4 separate regions of the Homo sapiens genome follow, and regions 1, 2 and 4 are each linked to region 3. Evidence: promoter capture Hi-C in 16 types of primary human blood cells and fetal thymus (Javierre and others, 2016). All regions are on one chromosome and are shown on one strand. Each heading gives the region's core, a stretch centred on a gene start or on the middle of the fragment in contact. The rest is flanking DNA. Distances are from core to core; before and after follow the strand shown.

Region 1 (2,700 bases), core at 90-2,589, 200 kb before region 3:
AAGGAGAAACACCACACTCAGGTTAGGGCCAGGGCAGCCAGGAGGGCTTCCAGCTAGAGAAAACATGAGTTGAGTTTTAAAGGTCACATAGAAGCAAGTCAGATCATAAGGAGATGGAAGAGTATTCTGGTGAGAGGAAGCAGGATGTGCAAAGTCAGAGGCAAGAGTGAAGTCATGCACTTCAGTTGTTCATTCAACAGATATTTATTAGGTGTATATTACAAGCAAGATGCTGTACTAGGAAAAATAGCTTAACATTTCTAAGTGCTTACTAAGTGGCAGGTTCTAAGTACTTCAGTTATTCATCATTAGGTTCTACTAACAATCCTGTAAGATTGTTAGGATGATGAGCCCATTTGACAAATGAGGAAATGGAGGTTTTCAAAGAACGACTAGTAATCTAATCTGGTTCAAGTATAAGGTTCCAGCAGAAGCAGATGAGGCTGGAGAGGTGAGTGGAGCCAGTTCTTGACAGATTTGCCGACCGAAGAGGGAGAGGCTTCACTGCTGGGCTGGTGCATCTTCCTTACTGGCTAAACCTGATATTTATGTCTTTTTCCTCCATGAAAGAAAGCACGATATGCAGATAATAATATAAAGTTATACTGGCTTGTTTGGGGCAAGAAATAAGGCCTACTTCTAAGGGGACTCCTATTTCTGGAGGCTCTAGGGAAGCTTCCACCACTGTGGCTGGTTCAGAGAAAACTCAGTCTTATTCTTCTGGCCTGCTGAATTCTCCACATCTCTGATTCTTTGGATGGTATTTGGCCAAGGCTTTGACCTCACTACACTTCTCTAGACTTCATTAGTGGGGTACACTAGTACCCTACCTCACTATACTTCATTAGTGGGGTACACTAGTACCCCAAATCATAATATCTTTCCTCCCATTCCGGGCGAGTCCAAGGTTTCCATTTTGCTATGGTCAACTGATGGGACTGCAGTACAGGAAACCCTAATCGCCTCTTTCTTTGTAGGGTTTGGCCAAAATAAGTGAATCAGGCAAAAATGCTCTGGGCAGGCAGGGGCCTCCTTAGACCACAGGTGGGGAGCCTAGGGTCCTTAGAAGAATATATGGCTCAGTGACATAAACTCACATTTCTGAAATAAACAACTTCCTTGTGCAGCTCTTTGATGGGTCCTCAAGCCAGGAGCTTTGGCTCCAGACTCAGAATATGCTCTCCACAGCTGGGCGGGGTCAGACATCTACAAAAGCAGGGCCACCACCCAATTTATTTGGTTTGCAAACTTATCTTTTTCTTTTTTTTTTTTGGAGATGGAGTCTTGCTCTGTCACCCAGGCTGGAGTGCAGTGGCGAGATCTCGGCTCACTGCAACCTCTGCCTCTTGGGTTCAAGTGATTGTCTTGCCTCAGCCTCCTGAGTAGATGAGATTACAGGTGCGTGCCACCACACCTGGCTAATTTTTGTATTTTTAGCAGAGATGGGGATTCACCAAGTTGGCCAGGCTGGCCTTAGCTCCTGACCTGAAGTGATCCGCTTGCCTCAGCTTCCCAAAGTGCTGGGATTACAGACGTGTGCCACTGTGCCCAGCTGCAAACTTATCTCTTTACTTCTAGAAGGAAAGCAGCTTTCCCATGAATACTCAGCAGAAGGGAGTCATCTTCCATGGGTTCCAGAGGGCTGGACAGCTCTGACCGTGCAGACCACAGTAACACGGAGCCTCAGGGGGGCTGGGGGTTTGGAGAATACTTGCCGGAGTGCATGTGAGCACAGGGGGTTGGTGGGATTTGAGGCTCTATATCACTTCCATCACCATTCTTCAAATTCTGTCCAACATTCAAAGCCTTGGGGTCCCCTTACCCAGGAACAGAGGTAGAAAGAAGGACACAGAAAGGAATCACCAACAATTCAGTTCAACAACCAAACAACCGTCATGGTTCCTTTTAGGTATCCACCAAAACAGCAAACGGGTAAGAGGAGTCAGAAAGATAATGATGGAAGGAAGACCACAATGGCGGTCTGTCATACCAGCTGACTCACACAAGCTTACACAGAGGTTGCTCTGCTGCCCTGCTGCAGGTCCAGAATCCGTGTGGCCCTCAGCTGCATCTCCGATGGGGAATCAGGGGACATTTTGCTGATGAAACCCTCAACTAGATCAATGATAATTCTTTCCAACCTCAACCAGACCATCAGTTTCCTAAGTTAGAGTGCAGCTCTGAGACATGACAAGACACTAACAGGGCCATCCAGCCTTCTCAGCCAGTCTCTGCAGTGGATATACTTTTTTCTACCCACCAGGCTCATTACCTGATTTCTGGCCCCAAAAGCAGTGTTCAGTTCCCAGGCCTGTCGATTTCTGAGAAGCATGTCCCTTCATGTTTCCAAATTGCTTGCCAGATGCAACTCCACTGGTGATGTAACTTCCTGGCCCATCTGTTAGGAGAGATCCCCAAACCTCGTGGGGGAAGGAGACCTTCTCCCTGCTGATTCCTGGTGGTTTTTAAGACTGCTGCTCTGTCATAGGATTTGGTGGCTTCCTGATTCCGGAGTGTGCATTCTGTACAACTCATCCTGAGATGGAGTGGGCTGCATGTTCTCCCTGCCCCTCTATGTCACTCTCCCATTCCAAGGGATACAGGGCTGGGTCAGGGAGCACAGTCTTAAGACAGTAAGAGGTGGCTCTTCTGCACAGTCCTAGGCTTTGTGCTTTGGTGCAAATGATAGTGCTCTGTGTG
Region 2 (2,700 bases), core at 58-2,557, 190 kb before region 3:
GAGGAAGCAAGTCTGTACTGTTCACTGCTGCATTCTCAAAACCTAGCTCTATGCTTGGCACACAGTAGGCACTCAATAAATACTGAATGAATGCACAGTGGACAGAACATGGGCTTTGCAGTCAATCCCAGCATTGTTACTTGATATGTAACCTTAAGCTCTTTGAGCCTCAGTTTTCTCATCTGTAAAGTAACAATCATAATAGCTAACAATTATTGAGTGCTTACTGAGTATAGGCACATCGTAATCACACCCACCCTCATAGGTTACTTTACTATACATAATGCCTAGTGCTTAGCCCATAGTATGCACTCAAACACAACAGCTGCTATTATTATTTCTACACACTTCTTTGAGGAATGACTTGGAATTTAAAAATGAATCATGAGAGACACCCCAGAAAATCCTCCCCGTCTCCCAAAATACCAACAAGGTTCCACTCATCCTACCTTGACTCAGGGGACCCTGGCTGGGCTCTCCCATCAGGTAGGTGCATCTAATTTTGAGCCAAACAGGACACCGAAAAAAAGAAGAGAAAAAAACGTGTTCTGAAGGGAGAAGTCCTCGAGCAGTGGGAACACCAGGTACTCTTCCAGGACTCTTTCTGCTGTCTGCTTCGTGCTGACCCCATTCATGTCCACTCACTCCCTCACTCTTCTGCAATTGACTTCTGTCCCTGAATTGCTCCTTGACTTGGGACCACCGCCCCACTCCTGGAGCTGCTGCCAGCCACAACAAGCCCACCAGGATGCAACTCCCCCACCGTGTTTTTTCCTGTTCTCCCAGGGCACCCACTCTGTGCACAGACAGACTCCATTCCCATAAGGGACACAGAAGAAAGAGGTGGGAGACGCAGCATTATGCCAGGAGACCCCCTGATGGAATTCTTTTTTTTTTTTTTTTTTGAGACAGGGTCTTGCTCTGTCACCCAGGCTGTAGTGCAGTAGCATGATCATGGCTCACTGCAGCCTCCACCACCTGGACTTAAGCAATCCTCCTGCCTCAGCCTCCCAAGTAGCTGGGACTACAGGTGTGCGCCACAACACCCAGCTAAATTTTTGATTTTTTGTAGAGGCAAGGTCTCGCTATGTTGCTTAGGCTGGTCTCGAACTCCTGGGCTCAAGTGATCCTCCTGTCTTGGCCTTCCAAAGTGCTTGGATTATAGGTGTGAACCACCATATCTGGCCCTGGAATTCTTCTTAAAAAGCCTTAGCCAAATCATCTCATTCTTATATTTACAAAGGCTCTCAGTTACCACTGGTTCTGAACCCCAGACAAAACAAACTCAAGGGGAAGTTCATCTCTGGCCTTCAACCTCCATCAGAACTTTCTTTCTATCCAACCAGTTCCCATTTGGGGTCACCTCCTCCTCAGACACTGCTGTCATGTGACTGTATGCCTTGGAATAAGCCAAGGCATGAAAAGTGCCCAGCACATAGTAGGCTGTTTTCTGGTCAAATATTTTTGGGAACAAATCAAGGGTTAATCATGGTGCACAAGATGAACCGGCCTGCAGACATGTTTGTTTGGCTAGACTGTTTTTTAAAAACCCTTAATGAGAATGCTATGGGATGGGGCATCTGCTCTCTAGTTCACAGTCACCACCACTGCCTAATGTCTCATACCAGACAGTTTTGCTTATTTACTTTCCCAGCCTGGATCATGTGGGCAGCTAAGGTTTTCATCTCCACAATCACACATGGTATCTGCGAGACTCACAATGCATACTACCATATTAAAGGTCACAAAAAGTCCTGCAGTACAGCACCCTGTTTCACTTTGGGAGGCTAAAGCAGGAGGATCGCCTGAGGCCAGGAGTTCAAGAGCAGCCTGGGCAACATAGGGAGACCTGTCTCTACAAAACAAAACCAAACCAAAGAAAGTGCTCAGGCCCAGGTGGCATGCACCTGTAGTTCTAGCTATGTGGGAGGGTGAAGTGGGAGGATCGTTTGAGCCCAGGAGTTCAAGGATGCAGTGAGCTATGACTGCATCACTGCATTCCAGCCTGGGTGACAGAGCAAGACCCTGTCTAAAAAAAGAAAAAAGGGGCCAGGCACAGTGGCTCACACCTGTAATCCCAGCACTTTGGGAAGGTAAGGCAGGCGCATCATGAGGTCGGAGTTTGAGACCAGCCTGACCAACATGGTGAAACCTTGTCTCTACTAAAAATACAAAAACTTAGCTGGGTGTGGTGGTGTGTGCCTGTAATTCCAGCTACTTAGGAGGCTGAGGCAGGAGAATCACTTGAACCCAGGAGGTGGGGGAGGTTGCAGTGAGCCGAGATGGCGCCATTGCACTCCAGCCTGGGCTACAGGGTGAGACTCCATCTCAAAAAAAACAAAAACAAAAATAAAAACAAAAACCCTGGTGTATTTATCCTGAGAACCCACTGTTTCCCCAGCAATATCCATTAAACACTGTGGAATGGCTGTTCTGAGCAATATACTTTGAGAAATGCTGTCATAACGTGGTCTCCCTCCCAAAGGGGGACCAATGTCACAGAGCATATCCAGAGCACACAGATCCAAGGGAACTGAGACACCAACACTGTGTGGTCCCCTGGCATGTGACTCAAGGTCTTGACCATTACGTGAATCATTTAGGGCATGATGTGGTACTCTGGCCATCTCCTTAGTAGATTATAAGCTCCATGGCCAAAGGACTTAATAGAGATTGATTTTGTATTCCAAGTGCTTGGCA
Region 3 (2,796 bases), core at 292-2,791:
TTCCACGCACTCACAAGACAGCCCAGGCCATGCTGAATTGAAGCCATCCCCTTCAGTACTGGCACTTGCCAAAGCTGCGTCTAGTCTGGGGAAGAGTTTCCACAAAGCTGGCTCTAACAGGCCGGTAGAAGACACACGGAGGAACCAGAAAGCGTTTTCTTGTAACCTAAGGATGGCAGGCGCACATGCTCCAGTCCAGTGCTGGCCAGAGGCTGCCTGCCAGGTGCTCTCGGCCTCCGCTGGTGAAGGAGTGGTTTGGTTGGTTTTTAATATCTGTTTCTTAAGACCACCGGCAGTAACTTCCCAGTCTCCCAAACTGAAGTTGGGGAGTGAAGGAACAGGTTTACCCCCTTACACATTTCTCCCATCTGGGTGGCCACACTAACTTCTGGGGAGTACCCAGCCCCCACAGAGCCCGCAGGCGCGTATACATACACATATGTATCATGTCAAAAACCCCAAAAGGCAGAGTCCTGCGGTTTCTTAGCTGGAGAATGAAGCCTTTATAACATCACAACCTCAAATGCAAGCCCACCATCACTACCTTTAAGCCAGGGTTGCCAATTATAGCGCCCACCTCATCCCTCCCCCTTTGCTGGGATGCTGTGCAGCCCGGAGAGGGAAGAAGGGAAGAAGGGAGAAGGCCTGCTTGCATAGTGAAAGTAAAGGGGGGGGAGACTTCTCCTTCTGTCTCCCCACTCTTCCCTCCCCACTTCGCCCCACCCCCGTCTTCTCGAGGAGCATCCCCAAACTAATTTTTTAAAAATGAAACTTAATAAGCTTCTTGCCTACCTTGGCTGTTTCTGCAACAAGTGCATGGGCAATCCGACGAGAAGACCAGTATCCGCTTGGGGGGTGAGATGGGGGGCGAGCAGAGCTGATGGAGTAATTTCAATATTAATTTATGTCAGCCGCCTTCTCTCAGCGCTACTCACTTACTGTACTGCCCTCAGCCTGTAAACAAATATCGCTCCGCCAGGAAACATACTCCCCAGATGCAAGCCCCTCTCCCCAGCAGGGAACCTGGCCCCTCGTCCCCCCGACAAGAGTGTGCTCCCCCACCCAGGGTAGGAAGCTTTGGGTTTCCAAAGCACCAACCCACCACCTCCTCCACCACCCCAGCAAGAAACTTACTCGGTCCGTCTACGCCTCCACCCTCCCTTCAGGAAATCTACTCTCCATATGCATTCAGCCTCCCCGCAGGAAATCTGCTCCCCCCTCCCCCCTTCTATATACATGCACCCCTCCCTCTCCTCCTCCCCATGCGCCCTCCCCGGCCAGAAACTTACTAGTGAGCAAGCGTGCAGGCTCTCCTGATGCTGGAAACTTACTCCCAGATATAGCGCCCGCCAGCCCCCTTTCCCAGCCCTGCTCCCCTTCCTGCCCTCCGCCGCAAGCAACTCCAAACTCTCCGCATCCAGCCGTTCTCCCTCCCCAGTGGAAATTTGCAGCGCCGGGCTGCGCGCGTGCATCCACCCTCCCCTTCAGGAAACTTACTCCCCATCTGCATGCACCGCCTCTCAGCCATCGCTTAGAGGGAAGGGGGTGTGCTGGGGAGACAGAAATACATATGTATCTCTCGCCCCTCCCCCGGTCGCAGCCCACTCGGGGCCGAGCCGCGGTAACCTGGCCTTACCTTTGCATTGCTCCCCATCCTCGCCCCCTCCCTTAACCCTCCTTATCCGCTCCCCGGTACCCCCCTTTTTTCACCCATTACCCACCCCTAGCAACCGTTCCCAAGCTCCTCTCGGCCTTTTTTTTTTTTTTAAATCCAGGATGCAAATTCCTCCCTTGTCAGCAAATCGACTGTCAAATTATTTTCTTGCAAAAGGAGAAAGGCGGGGTGGGGGGGGGGAGCAGGAGCAAAAAGAGGGGGAGGGCGGGGGAAGGGAGGGGGAAGGGAGGGAGAGGGACCGAGGAGGGGAGATATCCCTCCGCAGAGCTGGGTCTGGCCGCGGGCGGGGAAGCAGGAAGTAAGGTGTCCAGCGCCGCGACCGGCTGGTCGTCCGCCTCGGCCCCCGCCCGCGTCCCCTTTCCCCCGGGGCGCAGCGCTACGGCGGGCGCGGGCCGCCCGGCGCATTGTTCGCAGCCTTCGCGGCGGTGCGCTGCTGACTTTATTTGTGCGCTTTGCGTGTGCGTGAGGTTGCACCTTTTGTAGGCTGGCGAGTCTCTGGACGAGGATGGGACGGGGGACACGGGCCCAGTTGCGGCCCTGCGCGAGCGGGACCTGTCAGCCCTGAGGTGCAGCGGACCCTCCGGCATGGCCGGAAAATCGAGGCCGGGGAGAAGGCAGCGTGGCCGGGAAGCTGCCGCCTTAAACCCGGACCAGTGCAGGATTGCTTCCTGCGTAGCCGTCCCGGTTATTGTAACACGCTTTGCAAGCTAACGACTGGGGTTTGTGAGGGGGTTTGTTTATTTTTCTAAGTGTTTGCAAAGATGCCGAGGTCGAGGCGGGCTGCGAGGAGACGGTCCGCGCCTACCCCCACCGCACCCTGGCCTCGGTGGGGCTGGGAGAGGGCTGGGGCTCCGGAGAAGGGGCTGGAGGTTCGCGAAGCGCGCGTCTCCATCCCTCCGCCCCGATGGGGGCGGGGAAGGGGTGCAGTAGACCGCGCTGGAAGAGCAGCTCTCTGGGGAGGGGTCTCCCTTGCCGCGGCAGGCGCAGCAGGCCGGGGAGGGGGGTTGCCTAGGAGAGGGGCCGGGCGGCGGAGGGGAGGGGAGGAGAGGGGGCGCGGGTGCAGCCGCCGCGCGCGCTCGCCCCTCCTCGCGCGCCATGACTGTGGAACGTGGTGCCGGGGA
Region 4 (2,700 bases), core at 16-2,515, 220 kb before region 3:
TAATGAAAAACCATCTGATAGTAAACAGTAACCGAGTTGAGACATTAACCATTAGGAAGAAAAGATCTTTGGGGTGGGGTAAGGGGAGAAGCTAAAACACAACACATACATGCAGGCAGAATTATTTCAGAAAAAAAAATAAGTGCAACATTGTACTAGGAAGTCCATTCTTTAAGTTGATAGTCAAGAAATACTAATTCAGGAATTTGAACTGTCTCGTTAAGGAGGAGTTCTTTGGTTGTTTCAAGTCAAAAATCCTTATGCTATACTGCATGGAAAATTATAAGTAAGCTGTGCATTCTATTTTTGCCATGGCAACTGAGTTTATTTTTTAATGTTTAAAACTGGAACAGCTGGGCAAATCTCTAAACAGAGGCAATACATTTGCTTTATAAACACTTTTCTGGATGTTTGCTCCTTTGATAGATAAGCTTCCATAGACCCAATAGCAGCACCCTTCTAGGCTTACCCTCAGACACTAAGTGGAGGGCAGTAGTCCCTGGGAGAGACGATCAGCCAAGGATATGACAGCTGTAATGGTTCGGCCACAAAGTTGATGCACACTGCCCAGGCAGTTCCTGACTCACAACTGCTTGGATAAAACAGGATAGCATAACCTTTCTGAAATGGCAGCAAATGAAACTTTTTTCCCCCTCTAAACAAAAGATGTAGGAAAACGCCAAGACCTCTTTGAAAATAGAATGATGGAAAAGAATTTTATTTTTTTTTCTGTCCATGGCTTTCCTGAAGTTCAGAGACCACTGTCTGTGTGGGGCTGCTGTGGCTCACAGCCAGTTCCCCCCCATGAGTGTGTGCTAAATGCTTTTGCAGAGTCAAAGACGTCAGGTCCTACTCTCATGCTTCTGCTGATATTCTCTCTCATGTCAAGCTATGAATGTTGTCAGCAAAGTGGCCCAGCGTGATAGGCACACCTACGTGGAGCTGGGAACCAGCATACCTGGGGTGGGCGATGCCTGAAAACACCGGCCCAGGAAATCACGCTGCATTAACTCCAAAAGGGGAGTTGCATGAAGCAGGATCCTCTCTGTACTGGCGCTGTGTCCCAGCCTGACTTTTGCCCTAACGGTGGGATGGGTCAGTCTGACTCAGCTCAGAAGCCTGGGGCTAAATGGCATTTTTGAAGGATTACAGGTTTATTACCTTCAAGTACAAACAGCAACCCTGCTGACAGGGACAGGAGGAAGCAGAGCAAAGTCATGGAGGTTGGAGAAGTCTAGAAGTGCTTTGGTAAGTGACTTGTGATGAATACATTCATTGTTTGAATGCAAACATTATAGCTAAGGTGTATCTGAAGCCATTTTTGTTGGCCTTCAATGCTATTTGTCTTGTATTTGCTATCGTATGTGTTAGAAAACTATTTCTTATAGCTAACATCAAGGTAAACTTCAGTCCAGCGGATGTGAATTACAGCAAAATCCCAGTGAATGCGGTTTCACAGTACTTCCAAGTGGCACAAAGTAATTTCAGAACTCCACTAATCATTAACAGCGTTGCAAAAAAGAATAGGCTTTTCTGATTTGTTTTTTGGGCAATAGAACACTTTCTGGCATTCTAGGTACTTCAATATGTGTCCTTCAATCACCCTGAAGTGAAAGCAGTCCTGGCAACTTAATATTTGCCTCCAGATGGGTCTCTAGTCAGTTCATGCTGAAACACAGCTCTGCCACCCACAACTTGGAGCTGACCAGCCCCCAGGGAACATGGAAGAGGACAGGACACACCTGTTCTAGAAAACCAGGTCCTCAGTAAACACTGCTGGGAATGAAAGCCTAAAATTATACAGTACTCCATTCCTGTGAACGGGCCAAAGGATGACGGGCAACACAGGGGAAACCTGTTTTCACATTTGGTCATCTCCTCACATGTCGTGTGAGCTGGAGGAGAGCCGTGTAACACGAGGGCTTGCTTTGCCCCTGGAAAGCTGCCCCTAGCATAGTATCTCCAGGCAAAGATGCCATGCTCACTGCAAACTATGGAATGAGGTCAGAACAGAATCAAAGTAACGCTTGATGGGAAAAGTTGGCCCCAAGACCCCAGTACTAAGAGGGTCGCCTGCGTCTCACACACACACACTCACAGCAAGCTTTGGGATAAAAGGCAACCGGGATGGTTGACATCTGAATGCAATGGAACATGAAGGTCAGCTTCAGTCCCTACTGGGAATGATTTCATGAGAAGGTAGCCCAGATGAAACACCTCTTAAAGATAGTTGTGCCAATTATTTATTCCCCCAACCCCCCACAAAAACAAATTTTTTTAAATAAAAGGAAAAGAAATAGGATTTTTTTTTCTAAACCTGAATAAAATGACCACTTTTAAAACAGGTAGTTTAAAAGGGTTACAAAACAAGCAGGCAGTCCAGGTTTCCTGATTAATGAAGATGGAGGCCGTGGGTTTTCACTGTCTCTAAGTGACACACAGGGCTTTATAGTTCTGCGTCACCCTGAAGCAAGACTGAATCTTGATCATCCAAGAGAAGATCGGTGTCCACAACTTCAGCCTCTTCCATGACACCTCCCAACTGCTGGACGACGTCGTCGTCGAGGATGTCCACATCCTTGATGGGTTTGATCAGACTCAGCTGGTCCAGGGGCAGCAGCCCCGGCGCCCCCACGGGCCCCGTAGTCCTCTCAATCGTGGCTGCCATCTCAGCTGCAAAAGCCGCCTTCTGAGCCTTTT

What was found. Contacts are between HindIII fragments. The CHiCAGO score rates a contact against its expected background, and 5 or more counts as called.
Region 1: a contact is called between a fragment that was not itself captured here and the fragment with the promoter of TRERF1 in region 3, in 3 of 17 cell types (M0 macrophages, M1 macrophages and M2 macrophages). The highest score is 8.3, in M0 macrophages.
Region 2: a fragment that was not itself captured here is called in contact with the fragment with the promoter of TRERF1 in region 3 in 1 of 17 cell types (M0 macrophages); the score reaches 6.8 in M0 macrophages.
Region 4: a fragment that was not itself captured here is called in contact with the fragment with the promoter of TRERF1 in region 3 in 1 of 17 cell types (M1 macrophages); the score reaches 6.3 in M1 macrophages.

Annotation. Positions count from the first base shown.
Region 1 is chr6:42,247,098-42,249,797 of GRCh38, forward strand. All of the region lies in intron 13 of TRERF1 (transcriptional regulating factor 1), which reads right to left. Among named protein-coding and RNA genes, the nearest start is that of MRPS10, 31 kb to the left of the region's middle. The HindIII fragment of the contact is 1,332 bases long and covers 674-2,005 here.
Region 2 is chr6:42,265,302-42,268,001 of GRCh38, forward strand. It overlaps TRERF1 (transcriptional regulating factor 1), which reads right to left. Exons shown (of 18, transcript NM_001395490.1): 6 at 450-496. Among named protein-coding and RNA genes, the nearest start is that of MRPS10, 49 kb to the left of the region's middle. The HindIII fragment of the contact is 5,156 bases long and covers 1-2,700 here.
Region 3 is chr6:42,450,385-42,453,180 of GRCh38, forward strand. TRERF1 (transcriptional regulating factor 1) reads right to left here and starts at 1,542. Exons shown (of 18, transcript NM_001395490.1): 1 at 1,290-1,542; 2 at 793-877. LOC124900214 (arf-GAP with GTPase, ANK repeat and PH domain-containing protein 2-like) reads left to right here and starts at 1,976. Exons shown (of 4, transcript XM_047419627.1): 1 at 1,976-2,796. The coding sequence starts at 2,437. It overlaps LOC107986596 (a long non-coding RNA gene), which reads left to right and starts at 1,976. Exons shown (of 5, transcript NR_171668.1): 1 at 1,976-2,241. RefSeq lists silencers at 2,007-2,086, 2,557-2,796. The HindIII fragment of the contact is 2,023 bases long and covers 1,074-2,796 here.
Region 4 is chr6:42,225,899-42,228,598 of GRCh38, forward strand. It overlaps TRERF1 (transcriptional regulating factor 1), which reads right to left. Exons shown (of 18, transcript NM_001395490.1): 18 at 1-2,700. The coding sequence ends at 2,447. The region is part of intron 1 of LOC105375061 (a long non-coding RNA gene); the gene reads left to right. Among named protein-coding and RNA genes, the nearest start is that of MRPS10, 9.4 kb to the left of the region's middle. The HindIII fragment of the contact is 1,673 bases long and covers 430-2,102 here.